Linked DNA regions of Homo sapiens: all the other regions are linked to region 1. Evidence: promoter capture Hi-C in 16 types of primary human blood cells and fetal thymus (Javierre and others, 2016). All regions are on one chromosome and are shown on one strand. Each heading gives the region's core, a stretch centred on a gene start or on the middle of the fragment in contact. The rest is flanking DNA. Distances are from core to core; before and after follow the strand shown.

The links. The method cuts DNA at HindIII sites, captures the fragments that hold promoters and counts their contacts. A CHiCAGO score of 5 or more calls a contact.
Region 2: a contact is called between a fragment that was not itself captured here and the fragment with the promoter of LAP3 in region 1, in 4 of 17 cell types (fetal thymus, total B cells, naive B cells and 1 more). The highest score is 7.3, in fetal thymus.
Region 3: a fragment that was not itself captured here is called in contact with the fragment with the promoter of LAP3 in region 1 in 5 of 17 cell types (total CD8 T cells, non-activated CD4 T cells, fetal thymus and 2 more); the score reaches 7.2 in total CD8 T cells.
Region 4: a contact is called between a fragment that was not itself captured here and the fragment with the promoter of LAP3 in region 1, in 1 of 17 cell types (neutrophils). The highest score is 5.7, in neutrophils.

Annotation. Positions count from the first base shown.
Region 1 is chr4:17,574,032-17,578,447 of GRCh38, reverse strand. LAP3 (leucine aminopeptidase 3) reads right to left here and starts at 1,250. Exons shown (of 13, transcript NM_015907.3): 1 at 881-1,250. The coding sequence starts at 982. RefSeq lists enhancers at 703-902, 1,243-1,602 and a silencer at 973-1,182. The HindIII fragment of the contact is 2,285 bases long and covers 268-2,552 here.
Region 2 is chr4:18,056,718-18,061,133 of GRCh38, reverse strand. No RefSeq gene overlaps it. Among named protein-coding and RNA genes, the nearest start is that of LCORL, 37 kb to the right of the region's middle. RefSeq lists an enhancer at 3,480-3,639. The HindIII fragment of the contact is 1,996 bases long and covers 1,479-3,474 here.
Region 3 is chr4:18,006,882-18,011,297 of GRCh38, reverse strand. All of the region lies in intron 1 of LCORL (ligand dependent nuclear receptor corepressor like), which reads left to right. Among named protein-coding and RNA genes, the nearest start is that of LCORL, 13 kb to the left of the region's middle. The HindIII fragment of the contact is 5,084 bases long and covers 1-4,364 here.
Region 4 is chr4:17,838,697-17,843,112 of GRCh38, reverse strand. NCAPG (non-SMC condensin I complex subunit G) reads right to left here. Exons shown (of 21, transcript NM_022346.5): 17 at 3,276-3,437; 18 at 2,904-3,042; 19 at 2,420-2,506; 20 at 734-803. It overlaps LCORL (ligand dependent nuclear receptor corepressor like), which reads left to right. Exons shown (of 8, transcript NM_001394446.1): 8 at 1-1,926. Among named protein-coding and RNA genes, the nearest start is that of NCAPG, 30 kb to the right of the region's middle. The HindIII fragment of the contact is 4,850 bases long and covers 87-4,416 here.

The sequences.
Region 1 (4,416 bases), core at 1-2,500:
CACCAAAGAAAACGGCCTTCCTTGGCATTGGTAACTCTGCCAGGTTCTAACTTCCCTAAGATTGTTCACTCCCCGGGAATCAATGGAGCCAACTGAGCAACTGTTATCTGGGTAGGCTGTGGCACAGTACTGGAGATAGCACTGGTCAGGCGACTGGTCCCTCCACCACTGAGATACCTGCAGGAGACTGGAGCTCAAGCTCCCCCTAGAACGTTCTTCTGCAGGGACAGTCATCTCTTTCTGGTGCTTAGGCATGACTCCCAAGCTTGTGCTGGTTCCGAGAGCCATTCCCTTTGCAGATCCTTCACATCTGAAGAGCGACCTTCGTAATTTTTTGGAGTTCACTTTTCTTCTGGAAGATGCTCTTAATTCTGGGAAACGTGGGTCTCTCCCCAAAGCCCTTTTCTCTAGAGAGGCATGCTTTTCCTCTAGAAACCCTTCCAAGCTACTTAACTCCCTGACCTTTCACTTCCGCGGGGGAAGGAGCCCTGTGACTCTGGGACCTCAGAAACCCTTTCACCTTGGCAAACTCGGGCTTCCTCCAAGCTCGGATGGGAGCCCCACCGCCGCGTCTTTCCCCGGGTTACTGCCAGGACCGCGGGTGACGACTGGAGCAAGTGCGCGGCCGAGTGGAGCCGGGTAAAGGGCGGCTACAACCATCACCCCCTAGCCCCGAGCAGGGGAATCGCGCCCTCAATACGACCGCTGGGGTCCTCAGCGGCCTAGGCCGATCCCCGCAAGGAGAGAATTTTTCTTTTAAACTGATTTTTGCAACTTGGCTTGGGCGCCCAGGACACCGCGGCTTCGACCAGCCCCGCAGCCCCAGTAGCCCACGGGCAGGGCCCCAGCGGCGGACCATGAGCGAGCCGCCGCCTCTCACCTTCGTCATGTCTGCGGTGGAGAGACTCCGGCTCCCGAAACGTCTCACGGCCAGACGTCGGACGACTACTCGCCCCGCAGCCGGAAGAGGCAGCAAGAACATCTTGTCGGCTCGGCCCCTCGCACCGCCCTCCAGCGAGCACGTGGAGAGCGGTGGGCGGGCGCGCCTTGGGGCGGGGCTTTCGGGGCGCAGACGGCGTGCGCGCGGACTGGCTCGGGCGCCGGGCGAGCGGACGTGCGTCTAGGGGGCGGGACGGATGGGCAGCACCGGCCGACTGGACCGCTGGGATCAAACCGCGGTTGTGGAGGGGACTCAAGGGTGCGCCCGCATTCGTGTGCGCCCGCATTCGTGTGCGCCCGCATTCGTGTGCGCCCGCGCATGCGGGCGGGGGCGAAAAGGCGGGGCTTCCGGACGCGGTTGACAGTCCCGGGAGCAACGCGAAGTAGAGGGGCGGGACCGATATGGTGACGTCACACGATGGGTGGGGCGGAGGCGGGGCGAGTTCTGCAAGCGGGCGTGGGCGGAGCGCTGGGCAACTCCCGGGAAATAGAAACTGAGTGCCAGAGCTTGTTGTCAAGGTTGCTGAATAGACGACTGCATAGTGAAGACACTCCCACTGAGTTTTCGTTTGTTTGTTTGGTTTTTTTGAGTCGGAGTCTCGCTCTGTCACCCAGGTTGGAGTGCAATGGAGCGATCTCGGCTCACTGCAACCTCCCGCTGCTTAGTTGAAACGATTCTCCTGCCTCGTCCTCCCGAGTAGCTGGGATTAGGGGCGCCCGCCACCACGCCCAGCTAATCTTTGTGTTTTTTTGTTGTTTTTTTGGATTTTTTTTTTGAGGCGGAGTCTCGCTCTTGTAGCCCTGGCTGGAGTGCAGTGGCGCAATCTCGGCTCACTGCAACCTCCGCCTTTCGGGTTCAACAGATTCTCCTGCCTCAGCCTCCCGAGTAGTTGGGACTACAGGCGCCCACCACCACACCTGGCTAATCTTTGTATTTTTAGTAGAGACAGTGTTTGGCCATGTTAGCCAGGCTGGCTTTGAACTCCTGACCTCTGGTGATACACCCGCCTCAGCCTGCCAAAGTGCTGGGATTACTTACAGGCGTGAGCCACCGTGCCCGGCAACTCTTTGTATTTTTAGTAGAGACGAGGTTTCACCATGTTGTCCAGGCTGGTCTCGAAGTCCTGACCTCGTGATCCACTTGCCTCGGCCTCGCTAAGTGCTGGGATTACAGGCGTGAGCCACCGCACCTGGCCTGAGTTATTTTTATTCGTGTCCTTTCATCTGTTCCACAGGTGCAACGGTGTAAATACTGTTTTTGAAAATGATGTAACACTATTAGGTTCGTTGACTCGTGCACATAGCAAGTCAATACGCCCAGACACCAGGGTTGCAGCAGAGAAAGAGGTGTAATCGTGGAGTCGCCAAAGGAGGAGATGGGAGGAAACCTCAAATCCATCTCCCTGAGGAATTTGGGGTCAAGGTTTTTAAGGGTTTTGGAGAGGGCTATAGTGTGGAGATCGTTGATTGAAGAGTGCAGGGTGAAGTCATGGGACAGGGCGTTGAAGAACCTGTATTCTTAAGCTGACCCCATTCCTCTCTGGGGATCTTCAAACTGGTAGCTGGAATTCAAGGTCTGAAAAATATCTTAAGCGATCCTTAAACAGAAAGCTTATGATTCTAATGTCAGAGATCCTGTCTATAGGAACAATGGGAATGCAAATGGTCAGTATGTAGTGCTAGGTGACTTTTAGCAACAAGGAAGTGGGCCAAAGTACAGCCTGATTAATGCTTAATTATAACTATATTTCTGCCTAGAACTTGGCATGAAATTTTTGTCAACACAGTGGGGATGGTTTCAATAGAAAGTTTTCAAGTAGTGCTCAATATTTTTATATATTTTTATTTTCTGTAAAGCGTTTTGTTTTTTTTAATTCCTTATTTTTTACTTTTTTTTTTTTAACGGAGTCTTGCTCTGTCACCCAGGCTGGAGTGCACTGGTGTGATCTCAGCTTATTGCAACCTCCACCCCTGGGTTCCAGCGATTCTCCTGCCTCAGCCTCCCAAGTAGTTGGGATTACAGGCGCCCGCCAACACGCCTGGCTAATTTTTGTATTTTCAGTAGAGATGGAGTTTCACCATGTTGGCCAGGTGGGTCTTGAAGTACTGACCTCAAGTGATCCACCCGCCCTGGCCTCCCAAATTGCTGGGATTACGGGCGTGAACCACCGCGCCCGGCTGGTTTTAAATTTCTCATTGTAAAAAAGTACACAGCTGAATGCAACTCGGAGAATATGGGTAAGCACGAGGAGGGATACAAAAATTGTTCTTAATAATGACACCAGCCAGCTGGGTGCAGTGACTCATGCTTATAATCCCAGGACTTTGGGAGGCCGAGGTGGGAGGATCGACTCAGCCCAGGAGTTCAAGACCACCCTGGGCAAGGTAGTGAGATACCCATCTCTACAAAAAGTTAAAAAATTAGCCAGATGTGTGCCTGTAGTCCCGCTAATGGGGAGACTGAGGTAGGAGGTTTGCTTGAGCCTGGGAGGTTGAGTCTGCAGTGAGCCATAATTGTACTACTACACTCCAGCTTAGGTCACAGAGCAAGACCCCATCTCTTTTTAAAAAAATTACACCACTGTTGATCTGATTGCAATTTTAGCTGAGGTGCAGGGGTGTGGGGAGGCTTACACCAGCTGCAGTGAGCAAAGTCTTCACCTTGAGCTCAGTTGCAGGAAAGAAAGAATGTCTATTTCACTCTCCAAGAGCTAGACACTCCAGAGGAGAGATTTGATCTTCCTCTCTTGAAGGCTGAGTGGGTTGGACTGGTAGGTCCACTCTGGCTTCCACCTTCTCTAGATAGTTAAAATGGAGTTGCATCATAAACTCAATAAACTCACCAAATTTTATCTATATTTGCTCCAAAGACAGCGAAATCTTTACATTCACTTTACAGCTCTTCCCTCCTTCCAACGTGATAGATCAGGCCGCAGTTTCTGAAACTAAAAAATGGAATGCGAAAACCTGTCCCCTCCTTGGTATGTGAGTAGAGGGTCTCTGAGCTTCAGAGGCATCCAAGCCTCAGAGCTGTAGGTTACCCTTGTCTGTATCTGCTCAGCTGAATTTATTACCTGTTTTATTGACTTGCGGGTCCAGCCTGAGACTCTGGTGTATCATTTACTTTTCTCTTTGCTTCAAGGACCACACCATTTACATTTTCACATGCCTAATGGTACAAAAGAAAAGTACATTTCACAGTCTACAAATAATCAGGATTGTGGATCACTTTGGGATGAAAGATTTAGTCATCCTTCAAACCCTAAGTTTACAAGGTGCTTAAGATGTTTTTCTGTTAGAAATCATGGGATAAAAAAGAATCTAAAACAGTGTCCCTGTCTTCAAGGATTTTATTATTGTAGAGGGGGCAAAACTTAACCTCTACCATCTTAGGGTCTCCAGCTGGGCCTGAGAATTAAGTTGACATAAGACAGATTAACGAGAAAAACATATTAATTGGCTGGGCACAGTGGCTCA
Region 2 (4,416 bases), core at 1,227-3,726, 480 kb before region 1:
TGTACCCTTCATGCCATTTATAAAACTTAATTCAAAATTAAGATGTATATAATTTTTCAAATGATGGACTGAATAGTGTAATAAATATGGCTGAAAATAAATATGTTAGTTGGAAATGTAAGTCAACTTACACTCCCAGAACACTGTATAAAAGGACAAAGAGGAATGTATTTTCAAAACTTCAGGAAATACTTCAACTGGATTCAGAAGTTTAGAACATATTTAATAGGATTTTTCAGAAATAATAACAAAGAATGGAGAAGAAACAACCAAAGAAATAAAAGAAGAAAATTTCCCCAAATTGATAAAAGATATGAACATTCCAGAGTCTAATGTACATATTATAAGGAGTATAAATACCTATTATAAATTTTCAGAATTTCAAGCAAAAGAAAATATCCTAAAAGCTTCCAAAGTAGGGAGGGGAGGGGCATTAATACCACAAAAGACTGAGATTTATAGTGGCATCAGAATTTGTATTAATTTTAAATGCCAAAGGTAAGGGAGCAATATCTTCAAAGTTCCAAAGGGAAATGTAAGCCTAACAAAACAAGCATTTATATTATTATAAAATGTTTGTATTTGAAAACTAACTGAATATTTACAGACTATCACAAACTTCTCAAGAGCGTAAAACAAAATAGGACTATACAATGGGGTTCATTTAAAAATTAAGGAACACTATTTCCATTTATTCAATATATATATGCATATATATTGAACTACTACCACATGACAGAAAATATTACAATCAGTAGTGACAGTAGTGACACAAAGGTGAACAAGATACAATCTCATTTTATTCATGATTCCATATTTTCAAATTAGCCTACTCCCTAAAATTAATTTGGAATCCCCAAGCACTTTCATTGTCATTTGTGGGAATGCACAGATCAGTGAAAATTTGAGTCACACATTTCCAGCTGAAGTTGAACAAGGTGAATCTCTGTCTTCTTTTTCAGCTGTCATACTATAAATGTGTCTTTTTAGTGGTCTATTTAGTGCCGATTTTTGTGCTTTTTTTTTTTTTTTTTGTAATCTCCTTGTTTAATATGGTCCCCAAGCATAGTACTGAAGTGTTGTCTAGTGTTTCTAAGTGCAAGGAGGTTGTGATGTGCCTCACAGAGAAGACAGGTATGTTAGCGAAGCTTCATTCAGACATGAGTTATAGTACTGTCAGCCACTGAGTTCAATGTTAATGAACTAGCAATGTATATTAAATGGGGTGTTTTTAAACAGAAATGAACATACAACAATGTTATGTATTGATCAACTGATGAAAATGTGACCAGAGGCTTTCAGGAACCTAATCCTGTATTTCCCGGGAGTAATAGTTTTGTATTTGCTAACTCGATGTTTACAGAACTTTACCATGAATAACAAGAATTGACTATTTTGTTTGTCCTCAAGTAGAGTACAAAGTTTTAAATAATATATAATTTTTCATAAATAAAAACCAAGTGAGCCATCTAAAAGCTTGAAAAGTGTAGTTCCAACTATATTCTTTAAACTTTACCAGCTGCTTTCCTTATTCTTTCAATATCTAAAATGTTCTAAATATAGTCTGTCAGTTCTAGCATCCTTAAATTCTTAAAAAGAGGGGAATCTGTATTTATGTTATTGTGTCAGCCATTTTTCTGGGTATTAAATCTCACTTTGTGTATTTTTTAAATTTAAAAATAATGAATTATTTTCCTGGGTGCTTTTGGAATCTTCTGTAGAAATCTCAGTGTGATGATTAATTTCAGGTATTAACTTGACTGAATTAAGAAATAGCTAGATAACTGGTATTATTTTAAGGAGTGTGTCTGTGAGGTTGCTTCTGGAGGAGATTGGCATGTGAATGTGAGTGGACTACGTGGAGAAGATCCACCCTCAATATAGGCAGACATGATCCAAATAACTGGGAGCCCTGACAGAATGAAAACAGAGGAAAGGCAAATTGATCCCTCTCTCTTCTTGAGCCAGGATACACTCTTCTTCTCCAGCCCTCGTACATCAGAAACCCAGGCTCTTCAGCCTTTGGACTTTAGGACTTATATCAGTGGCCCCCACAGGTTCTTAGACCTTCAAACTTGGACTGAGCCATGCTTCCAGCATCCAACTTGCAGAGGGCTGTCTTGGAACTTCTCAGCCTCCATAATCACATGAGCCAATTCCCCTAATAAATTTTCCCTAACATATTTATCTATAGATAGACATAAAGAGAGATGAGAGATAGAGACAGACAAATACATTAATAGATATATCCTATTGGTTTTGTCTGCTTGGAGAATGCTGACTAATACGCTCAGTATATCCTTCATTTCATGAGGGAGAAAAATCTCTGTTTTTTAATCTACAGAATAGTCAGCTTTGCATCTTTTAAAATAAATGTTCTTCTTTTATAAATTTTTATCTTTTTAAGGTCATTTTAATTTTTTTATAAATTTGCCAATTATTAACCAGTGAGAAATAGCAACACAGAAAAAAATTAATTAAATGGAACAAAAAGTACAGTACCAAGCAATGGTGAGATTCATGAAAAGCAACTGGGGAAAGATGTTAAATACTTTGAAAATATATATTCATATTAATTCTTATAAAAATATCTTTTTAAATTGAACTTCCTTTTTATTTCCCTTAAGAAATAGAATACATTCATTTTTATATAAAATAACCTTTTATTGTAATTGTTTCTCTCATTTGCATATTTGGCAAGACTTCCTTCTGTCAACCACTTATCTATAATGCTGAGACATTTGAAAGAGCTAAAACACAAGGGTTAATGGAAGTATCACTCTAACACATACTGAAAGGCATTTCTTATTCTTGCTGTCTTTGAACAAGAAAGCAACTAAATTTGCATACCATTTTGCTAATACAGGTAGTCAAAGCTCAACTGTGAGAGTGGAAGAGGAATTTTAAAAATTCTTTAACTGTTCTAAAATGTACCTTACTGAACCCTACTCCTGTTTTTTAGGGGCAGACTGACCAATATATACCAGATATAAATTAAAAATTAAAAAATATACAATTTTAATAGCATTTTCTTTCAGTCAAAAGTGTCCTAGTGATGAGGTATTTGTGTGGAGGGGGATGGAAAGAAGAGCCCGAGGGGGCTGACATGATTCTCTTTGCTGTTTCACACATCTCTTGCGCAGTTATCATCTCCCTGGTCTGCCATTGTTTTCTTCTGGCCCAAGATAATATAGATTTTTTTAAAACCTTAATTCAAAAGCTGTTTCTTTTTATTGAGGAGTTAACTGGAAAGATTTTATCATTTTGTACAACAGTAGCAGAACTAGTTTTTAGTTCATGAAAAATATAAGATGTTTTTGTTTGTTTTCTGGATCACCTAACCTTAAATATTATAATATTTTGTAAGATTTTCAGAGCAGTTGCAAAAATAAAGGAACTTTTGTATCCTGTCTCAAAAACAGCTTCGTCAAAAGGAAAATCTGGTCTTCTGTGTCAATTTGAGAATCCCAAGCTTTGGGGTGCAAACTACAAGTAATACTTTGAACTACAAAGAAACCACAGGCTTCCAAAATAGTAACCAGCAGGAAGTTTTGGTTTTGGTTTTGGTTTGTTTTGTTTTTGAGACAAGATCTCGCTCTGTCACCCAGGCTGGAGTGCAGCGGCATGATCTCAGCTCACTGTAACCTCCGCCTCCCGGGTTCAAGCAATTCTCATGCCTCAACCTCCAGAGTCGCTGGGTTTACAGGCGTGGGCCACCATGCCTAGCTAATTTTTTTTGTATTTTTAGTAGAGACAGGGTTTTGCCATGTTGCCCAGGCATGGTCTCGAACTCCTGGCCTCAAATGATCCACCCGTCTCAGCCTCCCAAAGTGCTGGGATTACAGACATGAGCCACTGCACCTAGCTGGAAGTTTTGTTTTTAAAAAAAAACAAAAAACAAACTTTCTCTGCAATATTATTTTCAATTGATTGACTTGCATTTTATTTAAAACAGTTGATGATTTTCCTTCCAGAGGAGGAGGCAGCAAGGATTCTTTCTCCATGTTAAAAAATAATAACAGTAAAAGATACTCCATATAATAGTTAAAGAAAATGCTTAATGACAAAAAAAACCTGTGAATTAATTACACTCTTAAATGAGATTGCACTATACATGTCATAATAGCATCTTAACCGAATGGAGGAATAATAGTGAATACATGGGTGAGAATGAATTTCTTTAGTCTCTTGATTTCTCATATAAACTGATAGGATTTACTATTCTATTGCAATTAATTCATAGCCTTTTTAAGACTCAGAAGCCCAAAATGTGGGAAACTACAGTACGCAAGAAAAAAAATTACAGGTATTGAAACCAGTAAACTCTGGTTTTATTTCTGACTGTGCTTCATTTGTTGAACTTGGCCCAATGACCTTGAGCCTCAGTTTCCTCATCTGTCAAAAACAAGCACTAGT
Region 3 (4,416 bases), core at 573-3,072, 430 kb before region 1:
AAACTGGGAAAATGAGCAGTCTTCATTCACTTGAATGTATTAAGACATTCTGCTTGGGCTCTGAACAACTTGAGAAATAAAACAAGGAGAAAGATGGAAGCCAAAATAATCTTTCTATTACCGATACAGGCCAGGTTAGAGGAATAGCTTGATGGGGGAGTCAGGTGGTCTGGCATAGGCTGACTTATCCATCCAGTCCTAGGCTCAGTAGAGAAGCAGAGCTGAATATGAGTCTTTGGAGGTTTGTTCTCCTTTGAAAGCTCAACCCCAGGGGCAAGAGGAATAGAACTGAGCTCTTCCTCAAATCCAGAATCACCAATCGGATAATTCACTTTACTAGCTAAGGGTAAAAAGAGGCTCAGGTTGTGCTTTTGATGCATCCTTCCTCATAGAAACCAGGAGCAAGGGAAAGGTATTGTAACAATCATGGCTGTTAATTTTTGCAGGGTTGTATCTGGGGGTAAGTATACTGGAAACAATACAACTGTTAATATTCTGAAAACAAGTCAAATTTACTTGTTCTGGATATTTTAAAAAATATGTTATGGCCGGGCCCGGTGGCTCACGTTTGTAATCCCAGCGCTTTGGGAAGCTGAGACAGGCAGATCATATGAGGTCAGGAGCTCAAGACCAGCCTGGCCAACATGTACAGAAACCCTGTCTGTACTAAAAATACAAAAATTAGCCAGGCGTGGTGGCAGGTGCCTGTAATCTCAGCTGCTCAGGAGGCTGAGGCAGGAGAATCGCTTGAACCCGGGAGGCGGAGGTTGCAGTGAGCCGAGATCATGCCACTGCACTCCAGCCTGGGCAACAGAGCAAGACTCCATCTCAAATATATATATATACACACATACATACATATATACATACATACATATATATATACACACACACACACAGACACACACACATATATATATGTACCCATACACACATTTATGTATATTTTAGTGTTTGGAACAACTGTATTTTTTAAACTCTCAAAATAAAATTAGTAGGGTTTTTTCTTCTTTTTAAATTAACTAGATTTTCCACAGGCCTATGTAAGATACTTAAGTAAAATGCATGTTTGGTTAGAAGGAAACCCAGTGCTCTCTTCTGTATTATAATTTTCAATTAACTTTTTAAACTTAGAAGGAATTAGTGTAAAAGAATAGAGCACTGTTTACATGGAAAAAAAGCAGGTACTCTGACAAATAGATTGTTGTTTTAATTAGCTCTGATTATAGGTGCTTACACAGTTTATTCACTGGTGTCTCTTTTTTTAAAATATAATTAATTGTTCTTCAATGTCTTCTTCCTCCTCCCTTTCTGAACAGCTCAGTACTAAAACATCAAGTGGGAGAAAACAAGGGTAGGTATCCACACTGGGTGGGGTGCGTGGGAGGCAGAGCCACATCGTCATGTAAGAGGAGTGGGATCTCAGAACCTTATAGGGTGAGGAGGGTGTCCATGGGGGTTGATGGAATGAAGGGTAAGGAGCACCTCTCCATTGGAAGGCATGCTAAGGCAGGGTATTGGAGCCCAAGCAGGGTGATATGGTATCTGTGAAGGAGAGTGGCCTGGTATGGGGGAAGGTCAGCTGGTCCCAGCAAGGAGGACATCTACTTGGGGTGGGATGTCATCCTGCATGAGCTCTCAGGGCCCCAGTAGATACCAGGGGGTAGGGAGTGACCCATGTAGGATTGCAGCCTGGTGTAGGTATATTAAGGCTCAAGTGAGATGAGGAGGGAGTCCATACATAGAGGTATCTGAGTCCAAGGTATTAGAGCCTGAGGGTAAAGGGAGGAAGGCCTCTCAGTGGAGCTCGGTACAATATGGGATTTCATAGCCTGAGCAGGGTAGGGAGGATATTCTTGTAGGAGGGATGCCAGGCATGAGGAATAGGGACCTGAACAGGGTAAGGAGATTATATACATGGGGTAGGGATTTTGGGGCCAAGAGAGGTGAGGAGGGTGTCCGTGTAGGGAAAGAGACAGCTACAGTGGGAGATTGGTTACGTACATGAAGATTGATCAGTATTAAGAATAATGGGAGCCAGGCTTCTCATTGTCTGAGAAGGGATTTACTAATATGAAAGTAGGGAAAATTAGAATGCTGTCTGTAGTGTTGGATAGGAAATGAAGTACTTGTGCGAACTCATGGTTTTCATCATATATAGATATAGAAATGTATGTGTATGTATACATACACATGCCCTATACTGGTCATTGAGAAGGGGCTTAGGAGCAGTGGCAGTACGGTAGCAGTGAGCATAGTGTATTACCGTTAATTTCCTGATTTTAATGGTTGTTTTTGTGAGAGAATTGGGAAATACTAGGAATTCAAGAGTGGTGGGTCATTATGTAGACATTTACTCTCAAATGGTTGGGAAGATAAAGGTCTTCCTTACTATACTTAAAACTTTTAAGTTAAAGATTGTTAAAACATAAAAGTATTTAAAAACAGTGTCATTAGTCTACGTATGTTCTTGTGAATTAATCACTTTCAGCCCTAACTACCATAGTTAGTAATATACATGTTGTCTTACAGATTTTCCAGCACCAAGAATTGCCCCTTGAAATAATGATAGATAATATTTATTGAGTGCTTACCGTGTGTTAGGCAGATTCTAAGTTTTTATATGTATTATCACATATAATTTTCCATATGAAATAGTACAATTTTTATCTTCATTTTACAAATGAGAAAATTCAGGCTTAGAGAGGCTAAGTGACTTGCCCAAGTCTTTCTGCCTAGCAAATTCAAAAGTAGAATTCACATCCAGTCTTAACCACTATACCAGGTCAAACCTCATTTAAAAATTAGCAAGTCTCATCCTTTCTGGTCAGATTGTTACATCTAAAACTTTAGTAGTGCTGTTTTCATTTTATTTTAGAACTTGAGTTTCAGGGGTGGGAAAAAGTATTCTGGGTTTAGGCCTCCTCAGCCTTTTATTCCTGTCCTGGAGTGAGAGAGAACCGGGACTTCTGTATTTGAATGCACAGTGTCAGAGATAAGGATTCCCCTGTGATGGATTAATCAGAGAAAATATCCACTAATTTTTTTCTTGCTTTTACAACTGATGATGAGAACATGGAGTTAGTGGGCAAGGCTTTTCCATGGCACAGACTTGCAGTGTTAAGTTTTAGTCTGGATATAAAGTTACCTTCTATCCTAATTCTAAGAATGATGAGCAATACCTTTCCATCTCTTTTGAACTTTCCTCAAGAATGGCAGATGAATTAATAGGATATAGCTAATTGTTTCATTTTAACCTTCCTTTCCTTGTACTTATCTGTGCCAATTTAGGGTATGGAAAAGTAGTTTCTTGGTAAAATCCTGTATTTTTTTTACATACTACTCTTTTGGGATCAGCCCAATAATTACTTTTTTCTTCTTTGCTTTCTTAACCTTTTAGTATTTGTGTTCTGGCATAGCACATAAATAGAATAGAATTTGCCTATGAGTACATATTAGCTTGCTTGTCTAACTTTTCACTCTTAACAGTCTGAGCCCACAGATCCTTTCATCCTCTGTCAGAGTGAGTTTCTGCTGACCTACTCATTCCTCAGACCCATTCTAAAATTGCTGCCTTTATTTTATATAAAGAATAATAGTATTTTCAGTGTTGAAAGAAGCATGGCCATCTGCTAAAATCCTTTTGCTTATATTTTCTTCCTCATAATTTTTTTCAGTAATTATTTATGGACAGGGCATTGTACTAGGAGACTCAGGTGTATTAGATTGTCTTCATGAAGCACAATCTCCTGGGGAAAACAAGGCTCTCTGACTACAGAATACGATAAATGCGATAATAGAAGCATATACAGTATTAAATTTGTAGCATAAAGGAGGGGAATGGTGAGGTTTCCTTATATGAGTCCATGAACAATCATAAGATGATTGTGGGAAATGAGAAAAGATAGTTTGTTTAATTGAATCATGAAGAAACATGTAAGCAGGATATAGTAGTAATTATTTTAAATTATTTTACTGTGGATTAGGCATTAAGTGCTTATACTTAGAATTTATTTGATTTTCATAACTGTCTTATAAGACAGGAACTATATTTTTCATCCTACTTTATAGATAAGGCAATTAACTCACTTACACTAGAGGTGGAGAAAAACCACTGAAGAATTTTAAGCATGGGAGTGATATAGTTTAATTTGTGGTTTTATAAGATTACTCTGCTAGTATGGAGAATATAACAGGCAAATCAGGAGATGTCAAGATAGACCAAGCAAGTTTTGAGGGTAGTAGTGGAAACAGAGAAGAGGGGGAGACTATTACAAGAGGAGTTACAATAAACGGATTTTAGTTGTTGATTAGATATGGCCATACAGAAAAAAGGAGAAAGAACAGAGAATCATTTCCAAGCTTCTGTTTAGGAGGCCTAACTGGATTATGGGACCATTATCCAGAGTAGGATAT
Region 4 (4,416 bases), core at 1,262-3,761, 260 kb before region 1:
CAGGGAAAATCTAGCTAATGATTTTATATACTATAACAGAACCTGGTGTTATACAGGAAAAAAAGCCACAAACTTGTAATGAAGCTTGTAATTAAACGAGGACCATAACTGTCCAAAAGAGATTTCTTTGAAACTCAAGAAGTGACAAAAAAATTAAGTTCTCTCTCTTGATTTAAGCAATAAATTCCAAAAACATAGTAAAAAACAAGTTTCCCCCCAAAAAAGACAAATTTAATCAACAGTGTAAAACTATGTACTGAAAATACACACAATACAATTTTGCAAATGAATACAAGACAGCTACCAACTTTCAGCTCTAACAGTGGCTTGACTGACAGAAGCCAAAAATAAAACACTCTACCACACAATATACCCAAATTATAGACAGAATTATTCTATCAGTATGTAAGTGTAGAGAACCCAAATATTATCAAAATCAAGAGTTTGCTAACTGAAGATCAAAGAGGAGTCACATCATGTAATTAAAAATTGAAACAACATATTAAAGATAGTACTAAAGACCATGCCAGCTAATAGGCAAAAGCAAACACGCCGTAAGAAGTCAAATGCTCTTGATGATGGAATTTTAGACTATATACCTAAGACAGCTATTTATAGTTTTCACTATCTTGTTATATATTCTCTCTCATTCGCAAGAAAATTAGTTTTTTTCTACTTGTAGAAATAAAAAGTGAAGATAGGCCTCCATATATTCTAGACATGCATGACATACCTTTCAGAGTCGGCTTCAGCAGTCTGACACCTCCTGTTCGTCCTAGCTGAAACTGTCACTTTTCTCTGTCCTTGAAGATAGTATAATTCATTATCAGGATTTATTATCAGTTGCTTTTTGTTTTTAATCTAGTTTCTAGGCTAACTAAATCCTTTGTCTTCAACACAACAATCCTTTCAACACATGTATCTCCTACTTGTTCTAGCCATCTTGGTACCAGTTATCACTGCCACAGAAAAAGGAACCCAAGCAAGATTAAAACTTAATTTATTTTGTAAGCACTAATAATGAGTAAGGGAAAATAAGGAAATTTCAAGCAAGTTAAAAGAAGGCAAATTTTAGTTCAATGTATTTGAGGACAGTATATGAAAAATGTGTTATAATGAAGTACCTCTATTATTGCTATAGCACAAAGTCTGTGGAGACTCATGAAAATTAAGGGTTAGAAAGGTAGGTTAGGTGCATAAACAGGTGCTAAAGAAACAACTTTTTTTTTTCTTGGAAGGTGATAAAACATAGTAAGGTAATAATGGCTTCTTGTAAAATAACATACATGACCAATTCAAATGTGTTCTAAAATATATTTCAATGTAAAAACTAGAACCTTTATATACTGGGGATTATAAGATTCTACTTACTAGAAATTTACAAGGTTAAGGAGTAAGACAAAGTTTGGCTTGTGATGTTTCTCATTTATAAGGAATAAAACAATATGAATATATGAAGTTTGGTCTATTAAAAAGGATGGTGTTCTCATGGTGTGATATACCACAAAAAAAATCTGATCAAAACCAAACTGTTCAATGTGACAGTCTGAAAATTATATACTCTACTTCATTCATGTTACACTTTTTTCTACTCCTTACCTGCTTTTACTAATGCATTTATCCCCAAGAAAACATCCAACAATATGGGACTAATTTGGAACAATATCCAGCAATTGGTATTTAAATAATTTACTGGTTACAAAACAATATTATGACCAGACTCCATTTTAGAAAAAATTAAATCTGCATCGAAAAGGGCCTTAAAAAATAGATTTCTAAAATCAAAATCATGGTTGGCTCATGGGTGGGATTATTAGTGTTCCTTATAGTAGTTTGTCTGGATGTACTTTCTGATTCTTCTGTAATAAGCATGCATTGCTTTTGTAATGAGGAAATAATAAAACAATAAAAAGATCTTGAATTTCAGATTTTTTTCCAAGTGACCCCCTAATAGTCAGCATTTACTTTGCCAACAGATCCCCTATTGTTGGATAGCCCTTGGGAAATAAGTTGGGAAAATATGAAATAAGATGGGAATAGAAGGAAAACAAAGCCCAGAAAAATACTACAGGGATTTTTTAAAAATGCTTAGTTACAGGAAGGATAGAACACAAATAACTAATATAAAACCATCATTTAACCAAATCTTAATTTAACCCAAATTGTCTTTTGTAATATCTTTTGCATCATACTTCTTTCAATCTAAAGCACCAAGAGCAACACTGATTTTATAATCTTTAGACACAAGGCAAAAACTGACATCCACAGAAAGAATTAAAAAGAAAGGATACCAAAGACATTTTAAAAAAAATCTTTATCCCTAAGGAAACAAAGATAAGAAAACTTGCAAAACAAGTATTTTTCATTGGAAGATAAAATTTAAAACTTTTATCATAAAGATGGTCAATCCACACACTACCTCTGTTAGTCTTTAGCTGAGTAGACTTTGATGCTTGGGTTGCTTTTACACCCCTGAGTGGAGTCATATATACTTCTTTATTCTTTTCTATTAAAGGGAATAATACAACAATATAAATAAGATAACCTCATGAAATATTTTAAATTGTCTTTTTAAGACCAGTTTTTATAAAACTGAAATGACAAAGTCCTTCTAGCAGCTAGTGAAAAGTTATAAATCACCCTTTCGAAAATTTGAATATTGGAAAAAGAAGCAAAACTCTTAAAAAGATGGTCATATGTTGAGAAATGCATGCCAAAAAACACTTGAAAAGCAGAATAAACATTTATCAGTAATGCTCTTTCCCAAGAGGATTAATTAGAAAAAAAATTTCATTCATTTCTGATGTCCAACCAAACATGTTAGAGTAGAAAAAAATATGTCTCAGTAAAGATGGAAAAAAAAAAACAGAACCTTATAAATATTCTGTTCAGTATGTGATTACCATCTTCATTTTGGAAAGTAGTTGTAGTCAAGGTGGCATCCTGTGCTGCTTCAGCTTGGTCACCAAATTCTTTATTTCCTTTTTCTAACTGAATCTTGATTTTCTCCAAAGCTCTCAGACATGTCCTATCTTTTACTTGCTATAAAAGAAAACATTATTAACATTTTGTAAACACCGCATTCCCTAATCTTTGAAAATAGTACCAATACATATCAAGTTGTTTAAAAACACTAAATTATATGAAATTTATGAAGAAAATACTTCAAATAAGTCACAATATGCTAACATATGTATAATCTAATACAACCATGTAAATTCTACATGTATAAATATAAACACAAACTAATTTAGAGTAATGAGAAACTACTTTACCTCCAGAATCTCATTCAATAGAACCAGAAGATCTTTTGCAAGATGGCTACTGAGTTCTAAAGAACTCAAGGCTTTTGTATAGACTCGAATTTCTGGCGAGCACGGACTTGTTAAGATCTCATTGCAAATTTTCATAGCCAAATTGTCATGTACTGTTAAGGCCTAAAAAATTAAGAGAAAATTCTCTGTAAATTGAAGATGATTATGATTATTATATAGTCTTACACATCTAACAAATATTTCCAACTAATTTTCTTGCCATAATCCCAAATATAAAATGTCTAAAACCAAATTTAACATCCTCCCTACCCCCAAAATAAGCTCCCCTTCTTGACTTCTTGTTGTGGATGTTGTGATATAGGGCCCAGTTCCACTCCCTTTAGGAAAGATGCACTCATCCCCCAGTTGCTGCATGTTTTGGAGGGTAAAAGTTCCCAGCTGCAGTACTGATCCAGGCTGACAATGGTGGACTTTGGTGGACCTTGTCCAAGATCATACCTCTTCTCCCAAAGATTTGTCCAAATCCAATGACTGGCCCGTGCACAAGTACAGTGTTTCAGCTTGTCTCCATTCTGGACAACTCAAAGGAACATCCCAGTTCCGGAACTCCCTATGGGATTGGCTGGGGCCTTTGTTTGCATAGCAGTAGTTGAACTTAGGGCTATGCCCCAATCTACTTTTCCCTTACTCTTCCAAGACACTGATCATGAGAGTACTCCCCAATTAAACTATGTCAACAGCTCCTTTGAAGTCTGCTGTTACACATACTTAGAGTTTTCCTGGACTCCTCCATCTCCCTTGCCTCTCAAGCTCTTTCTTTTAGATTCTTGTACCCATAATTCTTTATTAGGTCAATTTCTATTCTTTCTACTATTACTTTCTAGTACTTTTTCTACAAGCGAATTATACAGATTTTCAGCTGCTTTCTTTATTAATATTCTTTTCTTTCTGCTCACCAATTCATCTCATATAACCACCACTGACCACCAAATTAATCTTTCCAATAAGTGGTTTTCATGACATTAACCCTTTCATCATAAGCCCTGCATAATTATCCATTGCACATAAGGCCAACTCCAAATTCCCTACATTGGCCTTTAAAGCAATCTATAATCTACCCCCAGTGTTGTGCCCTAACAGT